Regions from separate parts of the Homo sapiens genome. Here all the other regions are linked to region 2. The links are contacts of gene promoters, found by promoter capture Hi-C in blood cells and fetal thymus (Javierre and others, 2016). All regions are on one chromosome and are shown on one strand. The core of a region is centred on a gene start or on the middle of the fragment in contact, and the rest is flanking DNA. Distances in the headings are between cores, read along the strand shown.

The links. The method cuts DNA at HindIII sites, captures the fragments that hold promoters and counts their contacts. A CHiCAGO score of 5 or more calls a contact.
Region 1: a contact is called between a fragment that was not itself captured here and the fragment with the promoter of TECTA in region 2, in 7 of 17 cell types (M1 macrophages, naive CD4 T cells, monocytes and 4 more). The highest score is 6.5, in M1 macrophages.
Region 3: a fragment that was not itself captured here is called in contact with the fragment with the promoter of TECTA in region 2 in 1 of 17 cell types (naive CD4 T cells); the score reaches 5.1 in naive CD4 T cells.
Region 4: a contact is called between a fragment that was not itself captured here and the fragment with the promoter of TECTA in region 2, in 1 of 17 cell types (naive CD4 T cells). The highest score is 6.2, in naive CD4 T cells.

What each region holds. Positions count from the first base shown.
Region 1 is chr11:120,504,114-120,508,764 of GRCh38, reverse strand. No RefSeq gene overlaps it. Among named protein-coding and RNA genes, the nearest start is that of GRIK4, 5.3 kb to the left of the region's middle. The HindIII fragment of the contact is 1,199 bases long and covers 1,215-2,413 here.
Region 2 is chr11:121,098,153-121,103,121 of GRCh38, reverse strand. It overlaps TECTA (tectorin alpha), which reads right to left and starts at 1,879. Exons shown (of 24, transcript NM_005422.4): 1 at 1,680-1,879; 2 at 393-457. The coding sequence starts at 456. It overlaps TBCEL-TECTA (TBCEL-TECTA readthrough), which reads right to left. Exons shown (of 30, transcript NM_001378761.1): 8 at 393-457. The HindIII fragment of the contact is 15,442 bases long and covers 1-4,841 here.
Region 3 is chr11:120,313,828-120,318,499 of GRCh38, reverse strand. It overlaps POU2F3 (POU class 2 homeobox 3), which reads right to left. Exons shown (of 13, transcript NM_014352.4): 11 at 3,073-3,139; 12 at 1,136-1,271; 13 at 1-147. The coding sequence ends at 108. Among named protein-coding and RNA genes, the nearest start is that of TLCD5, 9.1 kb to the left of the region's middle. RefSeq lists a cis regulatory region at 4,617 and an enhancer at 4,545-4,672. The HindIII fragment of the contact is 2,105 bases long and covers 1,054-3,158 here.
Region 4 is chr11:120,329,519-120,333,936 of GRCh38, reverse strand. It overlaps TLCD5 (TLC domain containing 5), which reads right to left. Exons shown (of 3, transcript NM_001198671.2): 3 at 251-3,960. The coding sequence ends at 3,422. Among named protein-coding and RNA genes, the nearest start is that of ARHGEF12, 4.7 kb to the left of the region's middle. The HindIII fragment of the contact is 977 bases long and covers 847-1,823 here.

The DNA.
Region 1 (4,651 bases), core at 565-3,064, 590 kb after region 2:
GCCTCCTGAGTATCTGGGACTACAGGCACCCGCCACCACGCCCGGCTAACCTTTGTATTTTTAGTAGAGATGGGGTTTCACCATGTTGGCCAGGCTGGTCTCCAACTCTTGACCTCGTGATCTGCCCGCCTCGGCCTCCCAAAGTGCTGGGATTACAGGCGTGCACCACCGCACCCAGCCTCGAGTCCAAAACTTCTTAGCACAGCATACAAGTTCCCTGCTTACTTCCCCACCTCACCCATCATCCATTTCTGTCCATCTCACCTTCAGTCAGTACCAAGCAGCACTGAGTTCTCTGCTCATCCCATTTCATACCTCTGTGCCTTTAACACACTGAATTCTGCCCAGAGTCCCCACCCTACCTCCCACATACACACTGATACACAAGTTCCTATTAACCGCTCAGAATTCTGTTTGGGAACCTCTCCTACTAGAAGTTTATCATACCTGGCTATCTAGTCCCTTCCCAACAGAAGTAATTACTCCCTTCTCGGGATCTCTCTTGTGCTTGTTAGAGTTTATGGTCACTTACTTGTTTCACGTCTGCTCTCACTAATAGACTGTGAGCTTGTTCTCCTGGATTTATATTTTAGCTTCTCCCTTCTTTGTATTTGCCTCAGGTATATCCGCAAATCAGATATTTGATCTTAAATTTACCTACCATTTCTTTTCCAAAGGTCCCTTGAAGGTTCATCTCAAGTTCATAATTAGACTATAGGCTTTTTAAAAAATCTCTGGCCGGGCACAGTGGCTCACACCTGTAATCTCAGCACTTTGGGAGGCCGAGGCGGGTGGATCACCTGAGGTCAGAGTTTGAGACCAGCCTGGCCAACATGGAGAAACCCTGTCTCTACTAAAAATACAAACTTATCCGGGCGTGGTGGCATGGGACCTGTAGTCCCAGCTACTCAGGAGGCCGAGGCAGGAGAATCACTTGAACTGGGGAGGCAGAGGTTGCTGAGATCGTGCCATTGCACTCCAGCCTGGGCAACAAGAATGAAACTCCAGCTCAAAAAAAAAAAAAAAAAAATCTATTAACCACACAGTGCTTGGCATAGGAGATTCTTAGTAAATGTGTTGAATGGATAAACCAATAGAGAGAAGGGGTTAATGAGGTCTACAGTTCTGGCAAATCGGATTTGCTCCTGTCATTTGTCCAGATGAGTCAGATGAAATCCTAACTGGCAAATATGAAACTGTGCCCTTGGTAAGCTTAAAGTCTTTACAACCTAAGTTGAAGCTGGGGTTCACATTTGAGGAACTTAGGTTGAAGGAAGCAAGGGCCTGATTATATATCATATTGCAAGACTATTAAAATTCATCAGTCCTATCGGAGTACTTAAACTCCAGATTAAAAGAAAATAAATTCTGTGTTCTTCTTGTCACTTGTTTGGAGGATAAATGGTTCATTCTTACAGCAGATGTCTCACAGAACCAGTTTTGAAGCAGAAGTGAGTTAGAAGGAGAAATGTTCTCGATGTTTACTCATGCTTTAAAGGATGCAGTAAGCAGTGGTTTTGCCCAGTGATATTATGGGCAAGTATTGGCAAAGAGCAAACATATATGTGTGTGTGGTTCACATAGTCCCCAAGTCTCATGGCAGCATGCTGTTTAACGCAGCTGGCTGCAAATACTACATCGAATGTTAAAAGGTCCCATCCCCACTTGACAACTATATTATTACACAGCTCCCTCCCCGCAATGTCTCTTGTCTCATTTATTAGTCTAGGTGTAAAGAATACTGCTCGCATTGAAATTAAAAGAAAAATTTAGATCATCCTTAATCAGAATATAACCTGCCTCTCATTCCGCAGCCCTGCTCCCATCCCTCATGTGAGAACCTAATTCATTTCTACCACGTGTCTCAGTTTCCACTTGCTATTCTGCAGAGGAGATAAGCTGCTGTGACAATAGTTCTTCAAGACATCTTTGGTGCCTATTATGTGCCAGGCACCAAAGACAAAATAGGAAACCAGACAAATCCAGGGCTGGTCCCTTTAGCGTTGGTAGTCAAGTAAAAGATGTTATAGAGGCACTACATTTTCCTTCTAACAGTTTTGGTCCACTTGACATCAGGTATGTTCTTTATGGCATTTTGCAATTAACTCAGTTACACGGTCATAGTTTAGTCTGACAGTCTGGATGGAGGCAGGGGAAGGGGCGTGCAACTTTTGGCAACTCAAGAGTTGGAGCCAAGGGCTTTAGCACACAGAGGCTTGGGTATGCACTCAGAATTCTCAGTCTGAATCTTCCATAGACCTGCATTGTAGCCGGGAGTCTTCCACTATGGCCATGCCTGTCTGGGAAAGGGGACTTGCTGCTCATTTGCACAAATAAAGGCTTTAACCAGTTCCACCATAGTAGGGGTACTATGCTTACATCTCTAAAAGCGGGATTTTACTTGTGATAAGCTTTATACTTTCACATTCATCTTTCGTCATTTGATTTTCATAGTTGGTCCAGGTAGGTTCCATTACATGACATTATAGATACAAACCACTCAGTCAGGAAATAGCAAAACTGGGCTAAAACTCAGGGCTTCCGGCTGCATGAAAGACACTGGTCAAAGATCACTATGAAAGTCAAGCTGTGTAAAATGTTAAGCAAGTATTAAAGCCGCAGTATTTTCCCCCATCCTTTTACTGTTTTTCTTCACCACTTCCAACAATAAGAGCAACTGAAGAAACAATCCACTCAAACAGGAGGAAGAGGTCGGAGGAGGAGGAACAGAGTGGCATTTTCTACCTGGGAGCAAAGCACAATCACTTAGCAATGGAAGGTACAGAGAAAAGGATCTGTCTTCTCAATGAAACCACCCCCGGATATCGAAAATAAGGTGGCAGTTTTCATATTGCCCCAGGTGTCTGGGGTTTGCAATTTATCTAGAGTATAGTTTTGTCTGAAGACTGGCATTAAATATTCCTATAAATTATTATGAAATAACACAGGGATATTATAAAGGCATTCAAAGGCAAAAAAGCGTGTGCATATACATATGTGCATATATGTCTATATGTGTATACATATTTCTGTATATATGTACTTCATAGATACATATATCTCTCATCATATGTGTAACTCAGCATCATGCAATAGAGCAATAATTTATTGTACAGCTTCTGTCTGCCAGGTACAGCATAGTATTAGACACTATAGGGTACAGAAAGAAAAACTGGCCATGGTTTCTACTGTCAAAAAGAATACAGACTCATGCATTTAATTTTCCCTCCTAAAGGAAAACCTTTAAATTTTATCTCAGAGCAATGCTTAGGAATTTGGGCTCTCTTAAGGAATTCAGAATAGCAAAAGGTATAAGATTCTATTCACCCAGGAGGGACTTCTTACTCTTCGTAGCTCAGTAAGGGATAGGTTACTTTCAAGAGGGGTATTATATAGGAGGCTATGCCCAAGTGTGAAATACTAGAAGAGATACCTTACCAGTGAGCTGCAATTATAACAAAGGTTTCCTTTATAACAACAGTTAACATACACTCATTTCCATCTTGTTCTTCCAGATTCCAGGCAAAAATCTTCATTTTAAAACAATTCAGTTATCTTAATTCGGAAAAGACAAAAGGGAAATGTAGTAGCTATCTTCAAATACTTAAGATCTTTCTTACGTTGCTCCACAACCAGGACCAGTGGATAGAAGTTACAGAGAGGCGGCCGGGCACGGTGGCTCATGCCTGTAATCCCAGCACTTTGGGAGACCGAGGCGGGTAGATTACCTGAGATCAAGAGTTCGAGACCAGCCTGGCCAATATGGTGAAACCCCATCTTTACTAAAAATACAAAAATTAGCCGGGCATGGTAGCACGCACCTGTAATCCCAGCTACTCGGGAGGCTGAGGCAGGAGAATTGCTTGAGCCCGGGAGGCAGAGGTTGCAGTGAGCCAAGATCGTGCCCTGCACTCCAGCCTGGCCGATAGAGCGAGACTCTGTCTCAAAAAAAAAGAAGTTACAGAGAGGCCACTTTTAGCTCAAATAAGAAAGAATTTATGAGTTGCCTCAGGAGATAATGAGCTCCCCAGCCCTGGAAGTATACAAGCAGATGGATGGCCATCTGCCAGGGCTGCCCTAGAGGGTATTCCAGCAGTAGATTAGGAGGTTGAATGAGGTAACTTCCATCTGTAAATTCTTGGATTCTCTCAGTCTGTCTTCTTGGCCCAAGGCTAAAAGGAAATTTGGATCTTTGGAGAAATGTAACACTTATTGTTGAAAGTAAAAACTTGCCTTATGTTTTTGGACCTTTTTCTTTAGATGTATGGGTGCTTTTCTTTAAATGCAGCGAAGATACTTAATACCAGAAAAGGCAATAATTACTTAAGTGCTCTATTGACAAAAGTAATATTATTGACACACTGAAGTGTTACTAGGTAAATAGCATTAATGGCCTTTTTTAAAAAGGATACATTTACATGAGAGGAAGACAGTTCCAAAATAAAACCAATCTGAATAGATGAACATCATGTTTGTTTTTTAAAATGACTTCTTGTAACACACACATGCATATACTTTCAGGAATGAAAACAGTAAGTAGAGTAAAAATGAAAACGTGTCTCTATATATTGCTTTATGCTTCCATGTCAGACTGCACCTCCTGCCAGAGGAAGGATGGTTTTCTTCAAGCATTTTCCAGCATTAAGCATTT
Region 2 (4,969 bases), core at 630-3,129:
TGGCCGAAATAAGTAGATTCTTTAAAGTCTCCACCACAAATTAAATGCCTTAATGGAAATCAGTGATCAGACATGAAGTGCACATACCCCTATCTTATCTACTTTTAATGGAAATAATTTTGCGTAATTTTAAAGATCTACTCCACTAGCACAGGGCAAGCTGGTACATACAAATAGTATTTGAAGTTAAATAAGAAAAAAGTGGGAATATAAGTAAACCTCATTTAAAGTTAATGAATTTTACCCTTGATAATAGAATTTAATTACATTTTTCTCTTGTATCTGTAGACACACATGCACCTGCCCTTACAATTGTGGTTCCAATAAAAGTGTCTCTTTATCAATTCAAGAGCATGCTAACTGAGAGCTTTATGGAATTCTGTAGTACTCACCTTGGTGCTGTACAAGTGCGAAGATGAAAGAGACCCAAATTCTAAGGAATGATGAATAATTCATCCTGGAATTTTAAAAAGAAAATGAAAAAAAAATCCCCAGCTTGCCAGAGTAAACAGAACACCAGGTGTGTTTAGTGGCTAATCCCAAGACCATCAAAACCGTCATAGAACAAATTCACATAACAACATCAACAGTGCTGAGTCGGGCTGAAATCCCCTGAATGCTGGCAGGTCCTCCGAAGTTCAACACTTCATGAACAAATTAGATGCCCAGAAGAAGCCAGTCTGGAAGTGTAATGAGATCATTCAAACTGTCAAGTAATTATTTAGGATCAGTGAGAGTGGTATGCGTAAAGGAAAGGTATCCCCTCTGCATCAAATAAAGCGCTGAAAACTAGGACCCAACGCTAAAGATGCATGCAGGTCCCGGGTTGTGTCTCTGCAGCAGAAACCACACCCCAGTGAGACCTGGATTTCCTAATTTTCACTACAGCTTTCCATCAGAATCAAACAAAAGTTGGTTAAAACACAATGTGTTCTACAGCTAGGAGAATTTAGAGTCTGCCATCACCTTCTCCATAGAATGGAGCCGATCCATCATTTTGAAGTATTGACCAGATTCAGGGCCAGTCTACTCTGTTCACTGACTTCCCACAGTGAAATGAATGATAGAAACATTAGTAATAAAAAAGGACCAATCCAGAGTTGGAATCACAATAAAAATAGAATCCAGCGCACAAGCAACCAATTAGTTCCAGCAAGTTAATTAAAGAAGGAACACAGCAAAGAGAAACTTGTTTTCGTGTTAGTTTACAATCGGTTGCATGGTGGCTTTACCCTCCATCAGGAGCATGTTTTGTCTGTGTCACTCTGCAAAGCTGCGATGAGAACACGGACGCAAGCTCAAGTTAGACATCACCCAAGCGTGTGGCTAGACCATGAAGTCTCCTCCTGACAGTATTCTTAAAAAAGAAAAACCTTCCTCTTATCATTTGAAGTTATCACAATTCTTCAGCCAAACTTTCACGGGAAAGGCAATGAATTTATCCTGTGAGAGTTTTATTGCAAATCTTTAGTTGTCAAGTATATATGTTGTAATTTCAAGCACATATTAAATATTAGACAGTTTTGCTGGAAAGGGTACAAAGGTTTAGCAGAGATCACACACAGCTTTAATGGAGAAGATGCCGTGCAAGTTTAAGACTAGAGCCCTTAGGGAACCGGTTCAGAGAGAAGTAAGGAGGATTCATTTAGATATTTGTATTTATGAAAAATGTCACTAACCTGTTCTGTAGAGGCTGGAGGAACTGAGTCAGAAATATTAAGCCAAATCTTGGTAAGCCAGAAAAAATTAGGTAAAACAAGAATTCATGTCAGTTCTCCTCAACTTGTTGCCAATAATTTCTGATTCCTGAAATAATGTCTGAATCTCGTACTCTTAAAACCAAAAATTAAGTTAGTCCTGCACTAGAGACAGGTAAGTGTTGAGCTGCAATCAAGTTTTTTTCTATTGATTAAGGAAAAGTAAATCTAAAGATCAGTTTCAGGATTGCGTAGAGAGGTTCTTTTCCTGAAAAACTAGACCTTTTTTTTTCCCCTTTGAAAAAAAAAGTAGATTCAGATGGAAATGTCAGGTACTTGGAGCTGAAACCTTGGGCCTTTCTGATCAGAATCACTTTGCACTGAAAAACACAAAAGAAAACCCCCCTTCTACCTTTGTACCCAAAAGAAGGCAACTGTATAATGTTACAGAATTAGCATCCACCAGCATGGGATTAAAACTCCAAACAAAGCAGCTGCCTCCAACATTTAAATGAAGTTGGTTTTCTATTAAAGTCTTTTTTTGTTTCTCTGGTTTTCAACAGTCGCCACAGATAGGCTCTACTCTATTTTTTCACAGGTATGCATGAAGTATTTAAAGAAAATTTCCAAACTTTTTAGGTTTTATGCCCTCTCTTTTCTCTCTGATGCACCGCTCTGCAGGAGATAGGACAGGGCACTTTCCAGGCAAAATCTAACAAGGGACCTAGCGCTAGACACGATCTTCCACAAGGGAAATCTCAAACTGTGGCCTGGAAACCTTCCCTAACACCCAGTGAGGGTCACTGGAGGCAGAGGGGGGAGATAAACCCCTTCTGATAAAAAATTTGCAGTAAGTAAATAGTTTAAAAGGCATGTGAATAAGAGGAAAACGTGCTCGGTTAGATGCTTCCAAGCATCCAGTAGATGTGGAATGAGCAAAACTGGCTAAGGCATAAGCTAAATCTACTATTCAAAATGTTTAAATGGAATTTATTAAGAAAGAAGTAACTTGACTGTAGCAGGAAAAAAAAACTCTTCTGCACATCAATGGGAATTTAAAAATTACTGCAAATTTTCTCTGACCAGACATTTAAATGCCAACTGTACAAAAGAAATATAATTCTGGGTTTAAGCATGTTGTCTTAAAATGGACAAGAGTGCTTGGCGAGCTAAATTTTTTTAGTTTAAATTACTCCGTGTTTTTCCAAAAACCTGTGATAATTCAGTAGGTTTCCCACATTGTTTATTCTCTCACTGGTATTATGAATCCTCCACACATATTTACTTACAGATGTTAAATGACTGCTTCTTTCCAAATGACTCACATTTATTTGTTTTTCTTTGGATTCTAGGAGTGCTTAGAATGGCGTATATTTATATAACAGAAAAGCTAGTTTCTTGGGTGCCTATTTAAAATAAAATTAAGTTCAAATCAAAGACTCATTACAGAAGGATTCTCTTTGTCCAGCCTTAGGTTTTAGTCCAGTAGCCAACCTAAATGTCTTGAAGCAAAATCGCTGGCTGTGTTTTAATTAACTGCTGGTGGCATACTAATTGCTTTCTTCCTTTTTCATGCATTCTAGGATATTTATATCACAGCCCTTTTGACCCATGTTGGATGCTCCATCCTTCTTGAGACAGGACTGCTGCCCGGATAAATGCCATCTGGGCATAACCAGATACACAAGATGGTGGCATACATGAATTAGAATGCCTTTGAGAATCCGGCTGCAAGGGAACACCAGGTGCGTGGGGAGACACCAGGCTGGCTTATCACTTTGGGAAGCTGGTCAGTGAGTGTGTGTTCTGGTGTACACCCAGTGGTCACAGATTGACAAATGACAAAAATGTCTTTTCATGCTGTGTCAGCAGGAGGACTTATTTCGTTGAAAGTGTGAGGTGAGCAAAGATTTTGACAAGATTTAGATGTGGGGTACGGTGGGGGTGGGTTGGAGCTAGTTACCCAAGATAACTGTGCTTTATAAAAAAAAAATGGCAGAAGTTGATGCTGTTTTATAGGCAAGAGGAAAGACAGCTCAAACAAAATAAAAAAATACAGTCCTCTAAACTCAAGTAGAATGGGTTTTATTTTGTTTTTGTGTTGTTTTCTTAGGTTTTGTATACCTTTTTCTGTGGAACAGATGGTCAGATGGGAGCTACTTTGAAATGATGCAGTTATTGGCTATGGCAGACTGGGAGATGCGCCACTTAGACCCCCGTACAACAGAGATGTGAGAAGCACAGTTGGCCAACAGCCTCCAGCCCTCAGTGCCTTCAGGCTCAGCCCCAGTGCTGAAACCCAGGACACACTCTTCATGGGGCAGCCCTCCGCCAATGACCGGGCAAGGTCAGGCTACACAGTGTATCACTTTCCACTCAAAGCAGGACTCCCCGAATGGGCAGTTTTTTCTCTGGAGAGCCCTGTTGAATGACAAGGACTTGGTCAGGCACTCAAGGGAAGCAGCTCTATTATGCCAATATCAAGGCCTACCTGGGAAAAACATACATATATGTGTGTGTATACATATGTACGTATATATAATTTATTATATATACGTACATATATATTATACATATGATTTATCATATACACATGTACACACATATGTACATACAGGTATTTTATATACCTATTTTATATACCTAGCCTCATTTGGAGGCTATCTGGGTAGATGCCTCCAAAGATTTATTTCTCAAAACTTCTGATCCTTTAGACACATCCTACTCCACACCATCAGGAGTTAAAATTTCTCCCAGCACAGGAAGACAGTAGACAGGACTTTCCCCCACAAGACAACAGTTGCTCTCTTCAAAAGCTGCTCCCACCTTCTCTCCTGAATGCCAGGCCTATAATCTGGGCTAAGCTGCCACATAACCCAGCCAGAGACATGCTGGGCCTGACAGGAGTCTAAAGAGACTGTGCCCACGAAGGTGCTGCAGGTGCAAAGCACCAGCACACACTGGTAGGGATGAGGGGAGGGCATACCCAGGGGGCTGGATTCTGAGGCTGCTCTATCAAGGAGGCTGGGACATAAGATAGAACAAGAGAGAGTTTGTTGACTTAGGGGCACTCTCTAGAGCTACAGACTTCAACGTGGTGTCAAGAACACAAGGGGATGGTGCAAACTCACTCCTACTGAAGCTTCTAGAAGCCTGGAAAAAACGATGGCTCACACTGAGCAAGGTTCAAATGCCTGAATTACCATGGCAGATGGCCGAAGAAGGGACCAAAAGGCTCACAGATGTTTGCATGGTGGAATAGATATATTATG
Region 3 (4,672 bases), core at 857-3,356, 780 kb after region 2:
ATTTTCTTCCACTCTTCTGAAGGCAATCTGTCTGTATATAGAAGGCATGATTCCCTTCCTTCCAGGGGGAATACAGGGCCAGCTGGAGTAGGAGAAACTTTTTGGTCTCAGTGGAGGTAGGTGGAATGATTCCATCGGTACCAAGATCTGGAAGGAAGAAAGAAGTCAATCCTAAAGCTAATAATGTGATGGCGTAAGATGGGAATGGGGAGTGACTGCTAGCAGGTACAGGGGCTTTTGCAGGTAGGAGTAATAAAAACATCCTGGAATTAGATAACGCTGATGGTTGCACAACCTTGTGAATATACTAAAAACCACTGAACTGCACACTTTAAAACGGTGAATTTTATGGTATATGAATTATACCTCGAAACAATTTTTTAAAGCTGGTAATGTATATTATATGGTCCTCTTTCTCTCTCTCAGTAGGGGTAGGTGAGGAGCGCCAACGTTTCGGGCTATGCAACAATTGGCCAATAAGAACTGGCTGCCTTGCTGAACCGCCTGGATTTGGACAGCTGGGTTCATCTTTTCTGACGAACTCAGGTCTGTAACCTACACATCTCTGTGTTGTTCTGAATCAGGGCAGAATCTCTCTTTCACAAGGCATCAGCTCTGAGAATACTTTTTAGAGTAGATTCTTTGCTTCATGAACTGAAGCCCAGGAGGCTGCCTGCCCCACTGCATCCCAGCTGGGAGTGGGAGACAGGAATTGGCACCACTTCCCCCTTTCCCTGTGTCAGCCATGTTTGAAGCCCAGGGTTTTCTTTGTGCCTAAGCTCTGGGCTCACATCAGAACCTCCTGAGAACTGGGTTCCCATGAAGCCCAGCAAAGGACCTGGCTCTTTCTGACATGAGTGTTTGGAAATTTCCACCCTCAAAGTAAGGATGGAAATTTTGACTTTGTTGACATCAGCTCCTTGCCAGGATGGCTCACTGACTGAAGCTTCTTTTTAAAATCTCCACTCCCTAGGGATAAAGTCCAGTCTGGCTGTCACTCTGTCCTCTCTGTGCCACCCCATTCCTCTTTTCCAACCCTTTCTATGACAAGCTTTCTTTCCCAAGGCATAGGCTCAGCTTCTCACATGTCCCTTGGCCCTGCTGGGATGTCTCTGCACCGTCCCCTTCACCTTACCCTGAAGAGTTAAAACTGGAGGCGGAGTTCACTGCTGCTTTGGAGTTATTTTGAGATGCAGTGGGGCTGCTGGCGTGGAGTCCTGAGCCAGGAGATGAAGGCCTGCTGTTGTTCCCAGGGGAACAGGATGACGTTACTGAGGATAAGGAGAGGCAAAAACAAGGGGGAAATAATGCTGCTGGATCCCGGGACATCGGGACATAGCCCCTCAGACACAAATTTCCTGGTGTATCCCCAAAGGGACCTCACCCTCTCCCTAGCCACACCCACCTGACTACCTCCTGCCTCATTAGCATCAACTTCTGCCCACACCCAGAGGGGCTGTCGTCACAAATGCTCTCTGCAGCCCAGGCCCTGGAGAGTGGTGTGGCTGGTTCTGCAAGTCTAAGACTTGCCAAATCCAAGGACAGATGCCAAAATCATCCTACTCTAGGACACACCCTAGGCTGGGCACATGCAGCCCCAGACCAAGAGGCGGTAGGAGAAAAAGAACAAGAAGGAAGAGAGGAGGAAAGAAAGGCAAGTGCATAGGGGAGAAAGAGAACTTGAGGGCACGATGAAAGATTGCCAGCTGCTCTAGTTCTCCAGTCTCCACAAAGAAAAGGTGCTTGGTTTTCTAGAAACTAGAGTAATGAACTGAACTGGGCATGGTGGCTCATGCCTGTAGCCCAACACTTTTGGGAGGCTGAGGCAGGAGGGCCGATTAAGCCCAGGAATTCAAGATCAACCTGGGCAACATGGCGAAACCCAGTCTCTGCAAAAAATACAAAAATTAGCCAGGTGTGATGACATGCACCTGTAGTCTCAGCTACTCAGGAGGCTGAGGTGGGAGGATCACTTGAGCCTGGGAGGTCGAGGCTGCAGTTAGCCATGATTGTGTCACCACATTGCCTGGGCAACAGAGCAAGACGCTGTCTCAAAAAACAAAACAAAACAAAAACAAAAAGAACAATGAACTGGGAGTGAGGGGACCTGAGCCCTGTCTTGGTCCCCAGCCATCAACTCAGCAGCTCTGTGGCCTGTGCTGATTTGTTTCACTTTCCTGAAACTTATTTTCATCCTCTGTGAAATGGCAGATTTGTATTTGGATTAACTCTTGTGTTTGTGTTTCCCAAACTGTGTTCTATGGATAGGGTGACATATATTTTACCATCCAAACTAAGACCCTAAGACACTTTGAAAAGTGGAAGGGGCTGAGTGCGGTGGCTCACGCCTGTAATCCCAGCACTTTGGGAGGCCGAGGCGGGCAGATCACTTGAGGTCAGGAGTTCAAGACCAGCCTGACCAACATGGAGAAACCCTGTCTCTACTAAAAATACAAAAAATCAGCCGAGCGTGGTGGCACACGCCTGTAATCCCAGTTACTCGGGAGGCTGTGGCAGAAGAATTGCTTGAACCTGGGAGGCAGAGGGTGTGGTGAGCTGAGATCGTGCCATTGCACTGCAGCCTGGGCAACAAGGGTGAAACTCTGTCTCAAAAAAAAAAAAAAAAAAAAAAAAGTGGAAGGAAGTGCTATTGATAATTATGTCAGGACATGAAGCAGACACTGGGACTGTCCTGGCCACCCTTGGGCATGCGATCATCCTGTCTAGTGCGTTGAAATAATTAGGTGCTTTTTGAGGACTAGAGTATTACTTTGGGAAGCCTTGCCTCCCCTGGGCCTTCCACACAGTTCATTTTGGAATTTTATGCACCTAAGTGCTTAGAAGTGCTGCAGTTAAAGCAAAACAAAACAAAACAATTCGCTTGTTTAAACTGGGCTTCCTCAGCATTTTCCAGACTTATTTGATCACAGAACCCTTTTTTCCCAACACAGATTTTAATATCCTTTGAAATGCATTTAGGGAAGCCTGACTTAGGTAGATACCTTTCAGTTCTAATATCCCATTTTTTAAAAGAATTCTGGTGTTCTTCAGAAATCTCATTTTAAAGCTCACCTGTTCCAGGCATGGTACTGTGGACAGGAGGGACAGAGAGGGGGCCCAGAGACCCTGAGGGAGATACCTGAAAAACAACAGAAGCTTGTAAATGTCCATTTCTGCTCCCTTCTCCAACTTCAGATCACTCTCCAAAGACAGTAGGCCCCAGACTCTACAGAGACCAGGGCTTGGCTTCCTTGGTGATTTCCTAGCCTACATGCCATCCTCCTTTCTATGGGAAGGCCTCTGGACCACATACTGGCATCCAGAACCAGGTCCAGTCTGCCCCGGAAGTTCCCTGGTGTCAACACCAGGGCCCTCCAGCCCCTGACAATGTGTATTGCCTGATAAGGTTTCTTTGACACTGCCAAGCCGAAGGCTGCCTTGCCTGAGAGCCCTGGAGGTGAGCAAGACAAGCCTCTTGGGCCCTGCTGTGGCAGATACTGCTGGTTGCCTGTCATTTTCTGGTCTCCATTGCTTTTTCCCTAAAAGAACCCTGCTTTTGCTGAGGACAGCAGGGTTGCTCAGCCTAGCAGCCTCTCGCAGGCTTTCCCACTGTGATGGATGAATGGAGCATGGACTCTCCAGAGGTGACTGGAGGCACTGAACTTTGGTCTCTGAAGCTTTTTATTTTGCCCTGGAGACCTCATAGCATCATCAGCTCTGAGATTAGAAAGGGACCTGGGATAACTTTGTTTACCCTCCCATGCAATTCAGGAACCTCCCCCTCACTGTTACTATCCTAGAACAATGTAGAACAAGATGTAATAGAAAGAATAGACTTTGGAGCCCAACAGGTCTGGGAGTAAGACAGCTCCACCACTATCTGTGTGACTTTGGGCAAGTTATCTAACCCTACTGAGATTTGGTTTTCTCATCTGTAAAATAGCAGCAATACTTCCATTATATATTTTAATTAAGTCATAATGAGATAATGTCTGTAAAGCTTCCAACCCAACAGCTGGCAAAGAGTGTCAGCTTGTTAAATGCTAGTTCTCTCCCTTTCTGGAAGAAGCAGCTGTCAACTGCTGTATATTTCTAGATGTTATTCGACTCTTCTTTTGAGCTAAAATCTGTGTATTTTCACTGCCCCTTATTCTTCTCATGCTAACAGGGGAAGCTCTGACCAGGTGTTCGCAAAGGCTATTGAAAGGTAGTTCTGCTCTCCCCAGTTTGGAAGATCCCACCCTAACAGGATGCAGCATGTACTTATTTCGTCATTAATCAGAAATGGTTTTCCTGTTTTCATTTACTTTTCCTTATACAATGAGCCTCCTCAGTAGGCTGGGGGCCTGTGAAGGGTGGAGACGGGCACAGGTTGGGAGGGGTGGCAGAGTGGTAAGAGATGTTATCAATAATCTCCCTACCTCTTCTCCTCCCTCCCTGCTGTCACACCCAAGACATGTGTTGTTGTTGTTGTTGTTGTTGGTTTGAGATGGAGTCTCGCTCTGTCACCCAGGCTGGAGTGCAATGGCACGATCACGGTTCACTGCAACCTCTGCCTCCTGGGTTCAAGCGATTCTTTTGTCTCAATCTCCCGAGTAGCTGGGATTACAGGCACCTGCCACCATGCCCAGCTAATTTTTGTATTTTTAGTAGAGACAGGGTTTTGCCACGT
Region 4 (4,418 bases), core at 86-2,585, 770 kb after region 2:
CAAGACAAGTGTCCAAACAGGTGGCAGAACAAGAAACACATTAAGGTTCTTCCTCTCTCTTTTGGCAAACTGTTTTGTGTATGTCAACTGTTACCCCCCAAAATAAAAAAAAATAGGGGGAATGATGGATAATGAACAGCAGATTAGAGATATTCACTAGTAAGTATGAATACAGGTCAACATTTCTACAGGTCAAAAGGCTTTTTTTAACTTCTTGGCAAAACCACCACATAAATATAAAGACAGACTCTGGGTTTATAAAAAGTTGTTTTACTTTTATAAAATTTAGTACAAATCTTATGGAAATATAAATCGTTCTTGAACAGTGTTCGTTATCATTACACAGTAATCCAGTGCAAATGAGTACTTCATTTTGTCCAAGTATACCACACATTAATTAGCCCTTCATTTACCTGTGGTTTCAGAACTTAGCATTGTCTTAACTGCTGAGTCATCTTCAGTTCACATTGTTCTCTCAGAAGTTTTTTCATAGTTATTAGTAACAACATCAAGAAAAGCTGAAATGAGGGATTCCCTTCCCCTTACCAATTATTCAGATTTCTCACCATTCAAAAAAACCTACATACAGTTCCATGAAAGTGTCCCCAAAACAACAAGATCTGCAGTCCCTTCACTTCTGAGGAGTAAGAGAGAAAAAGAATTGGTACCAGATTAAGCCTGTTCATTTGTCTGGTATGGAACAGGTTGCACTGTGCCAAAATTCAAGAGCCAGCTTTTTTTCTTTTTTTTAAGCTCATGTGCCAGGCCACTCTTTTCTACAAGCTTTTGCTAAAATCAGCATTCCCCAGCATCCTACTTTGACCGCAATTTTGTTGGAAAGAAGCTTACCAGCATTTTAGGGGCGCTCATCATAGAAAAAAAAAAAGTGGAGATTAAGAAAAAAAACAGGAAGTGGAGATGCTGTCAGATTATCTCAATGCCCAGCAAAACTCTTTAACCAAATGACATTCATTTTTAAAGACCCACTGTTAACATGCATTTAAAGTTACTGTTTCCCTAACAGTGATGACTTTATACCATTCCAACCACTCCCTCATACCTGGTTTCTGTGGCCAAGACCATTTTTCATTTTCAAGACCGCTCATGGCTGGGCACGGTGGCTCACACCTGTAATCCCAGCACTTTGGGAGGCCGAGGCGGGTGGGTCATGAAGTCAGGAGTTCAAGACCAGCCTGGCCAACATGGTGAAACCCCGTCTCTACTAAAAATACAAAAAGTAGCCAGGCATGGTGGCACACGCCTGTAGTCCCAGCTACTCGGGAGGCTGAGGCAGGAGAATCACTTGAACACAGAAGGCGGAGGTTGCAGTGAGTTGAGATCACACCACTGCACTCCAGCCTGGGCGACAGAGCAAGACTCTGTCTCAAACAACAACAACAACAACAACAACAACAAAAGACACCATTCATTACGTTAGATTACCAGTGGCCATGGAATGGACTGATGCTTCCTACTGACCAGCCTTGACTCCAGTAGCACCATATGCTTGCTCACCCACTGAGCTAATCAAACACCATTGACTTCAATAACATGGTAAAAATAAATAATCAATAAATACATAAATACTTCATATTTCCATAAAAGCCCTACATTAAAGACCTCCATTAATAAAATGCCACATAATGTATTTATGAAATATACTACAGGGTATTTCATTCATTCACAATAGGTTTAAACTCAGGCAAAGAAGAAACAAGTAACCTATCCAAAGTGAGTGAGTAGCTCTCCAAAGTGGCAAGTGAGTAGCAAAATTAGTTAAAAGAACCCAGGAATTCTGGATTCTTAACCCCTTGTTCTAAGCTTATATTCTTGCTTCTCTTGGAGACTGTCACACTAAGAATTATTATTTTTTTCCTTCCAAGACTGGCCTTGTTTTATTAGTTTGTTCATAGAGTGGTACCTTTTTAGTAAAAATAAGAAAAGTAGGAGGAGTACTAAAAGGGAAAGTATCTAAAATGAAAAAAAAAAATTAACCTCATCCCCCTGAGGCCAGTACACACTTTAAAGTCTTTGGCTCTAGTTTGCAATATGTACAGCAGAGCTGAAATCTAAACTGCCATCTCAAGCACAGTGGAATCCACATGATAAATCCCTATGGAATTTAGTCATAGCCTCAAATGCCTAGGAGATTAATGCACAAAAGCCCTGAGAACTGGCATAGTTTTCCTGGTAGGGCAGAACCCATATAACAGGACTCAGTAAATCTACCCACACTTCATTCATCTCAGATCCAAAGCCCTAACTCTATAGGTTTTGTGCAGAAAAGAGTTAACATAGCAGGCCTAAACTGCTATCCTTGGAGAGGCCTGATTACAGGGTTGGCCACTGGCCGGCATTTGGGAACTTAGATTTTGGAGGGGCTCCCACAATTAACTGATAAGACTGGCTTACTGTGTCTGAACTGCTTGTGCAAACAATATGGCTTATGCTGAACACCTGCTTTCCTTTTGAGAGTCTTGAATTTTGCTATCTGCCAGGGAAAGCCTGCCTAGATGACCTGTCCTCAGTAAAAACTTTGGGCACTGAGTCTGTAGTGACCTTGTCCAGTAGACAACTCATTCACATGTCGTAACAAATCACTGCTAGGGGAATTAAGTGCATCCTGTGTGATTCCATTGGGAGAGGACTCTGGAAACTTGTGCTTGCTTTACCCTAGACTTTGTCTCAGGTGCCTTTTCCTTTTACCGATTTTTCTTTGTATCTTTTCACTATAATAAATCAAAACTATAAGTAAGACTATATGCTGAGTCCACTGAGTCTTCCCAGAGAATTACAGAACCTGGCAGTGGTCTTGGGCACCTCTGGCACAGTTGGTATAGGAGGTTCAGTAAGTAGCCCTCCCCCTCACTGCCAGTTTCACTCTCACCCTCCTATGCCCCTCTGTTTAAGCGACCCAATTCCCCGATCTAATGTTCAGAATGTCAAAGGCGTGTCTCTTCCTGTAAGCCCCTCACTTTATAGTAAATGGGGTAAACTTAGATAAATTGCTATATGGAAAGCAGAAATAAGTGTTTATTGAAAGAGTTACTTCTCAAAGGAACAAGAAATAGCACTAATCTTTTTCGAGTTCCTTTCTAAACTGCCTGAACATCAAACCTCCCAGGGACAGGAGGACCCAGGGTCACCACAAATGAAAACAAATGCCAGTTGTACTCACTTCACAGTTCTCACTTATTCCCAACTACCATGGAGTATTCTCACTTTCTACAACTGTGCTACTGTAGAAGTTAGTGTTTTAATACTGGTATATGCTCGGCTTGAAGACTGACCAAATTGATCAATACATTTAGCCCTTTATTGAAACCTAAGTTTGTTATAAGTGTAATTATGTAACAGTCATATTTCCAACCTGGTTCCCATGGCTGACTTAACCCAATCCATAATCTGGAGCAAGCCTTGGCTAGTGTATTTTGAGATGTCCGTTGTGTTTCAGCTGCCGTTCCTCACTCCGCCTGCTTCTCCAAGCATGGTACTTCTTGATGCTCTTCCTCCATGCAAAGCGCCAGATGCTAAACATGAAACACCAAGACACAGCATACATCGCTACTCCCCCAGCCTTCACAAACCACTTAGGCGTGGGGGAGACCATTTCACAGAAAAGGAGGCAAGCTCCCACACCAATCCTCACTCCTGTGAACAGAGCCACAAAGAGGAAGTCCACTACATCTCCAGTGAAACTGTGATAGTGCCCTGTTTCCCGGAGAAACCAGCGCATCTGTAGCAAGGGGTTGGTAAGCTCACTTCCAAAGAGGACTGCATTGACCTCTGTGCCAGACTCCCCAAGCACAAGGGCCATGATAATGCCCAAGATACTCAATGTGTGATGAGCCAGCATCAAGGCACCCTCAGACTGAAAGTAGACGCACCAGCCCAAGTCGAAGATGAAGTAGCCCAAGGTGAGACACAGGACATGAACTTGGAGAGGTGTATTGGGTGAGCCTGAAACAAACCAAGACAGAAGCAAATTGAGTGACTGGGAATTGTGTTACCTTGCACAGGGATCCTATGTTGTTGTCTTTCAAACCTTACTAGACACTAAAGAAACAAAAACAATAGCAGGCACATGCTTTTTAATGAGGACCAAAGAAAGACTAAAATATAAAATCTAGGTCTTTATCAAACTAAACGATGTTCAGACCCCAGGAAATGCTGTTCTGATGAATCAGACTTCAATGAGTTTGCATCCTTCAATGAACACAGGCAATAATCTCAGTATCCTCTCCGCGGAACAGCATAAAATCCAATTATTTTGTTCCTTCAATTAAAATCCTAAACTTTATTTTTTTTTTTTACTCTGCTAAAGGTTTATTTCCAGACTCTTGAATCATTGTTTCCTGAATGTCAGATTTTTTTCTCAGCTTAATGGGTTACGTTATTGAACACTCAGTGGTCTTAAC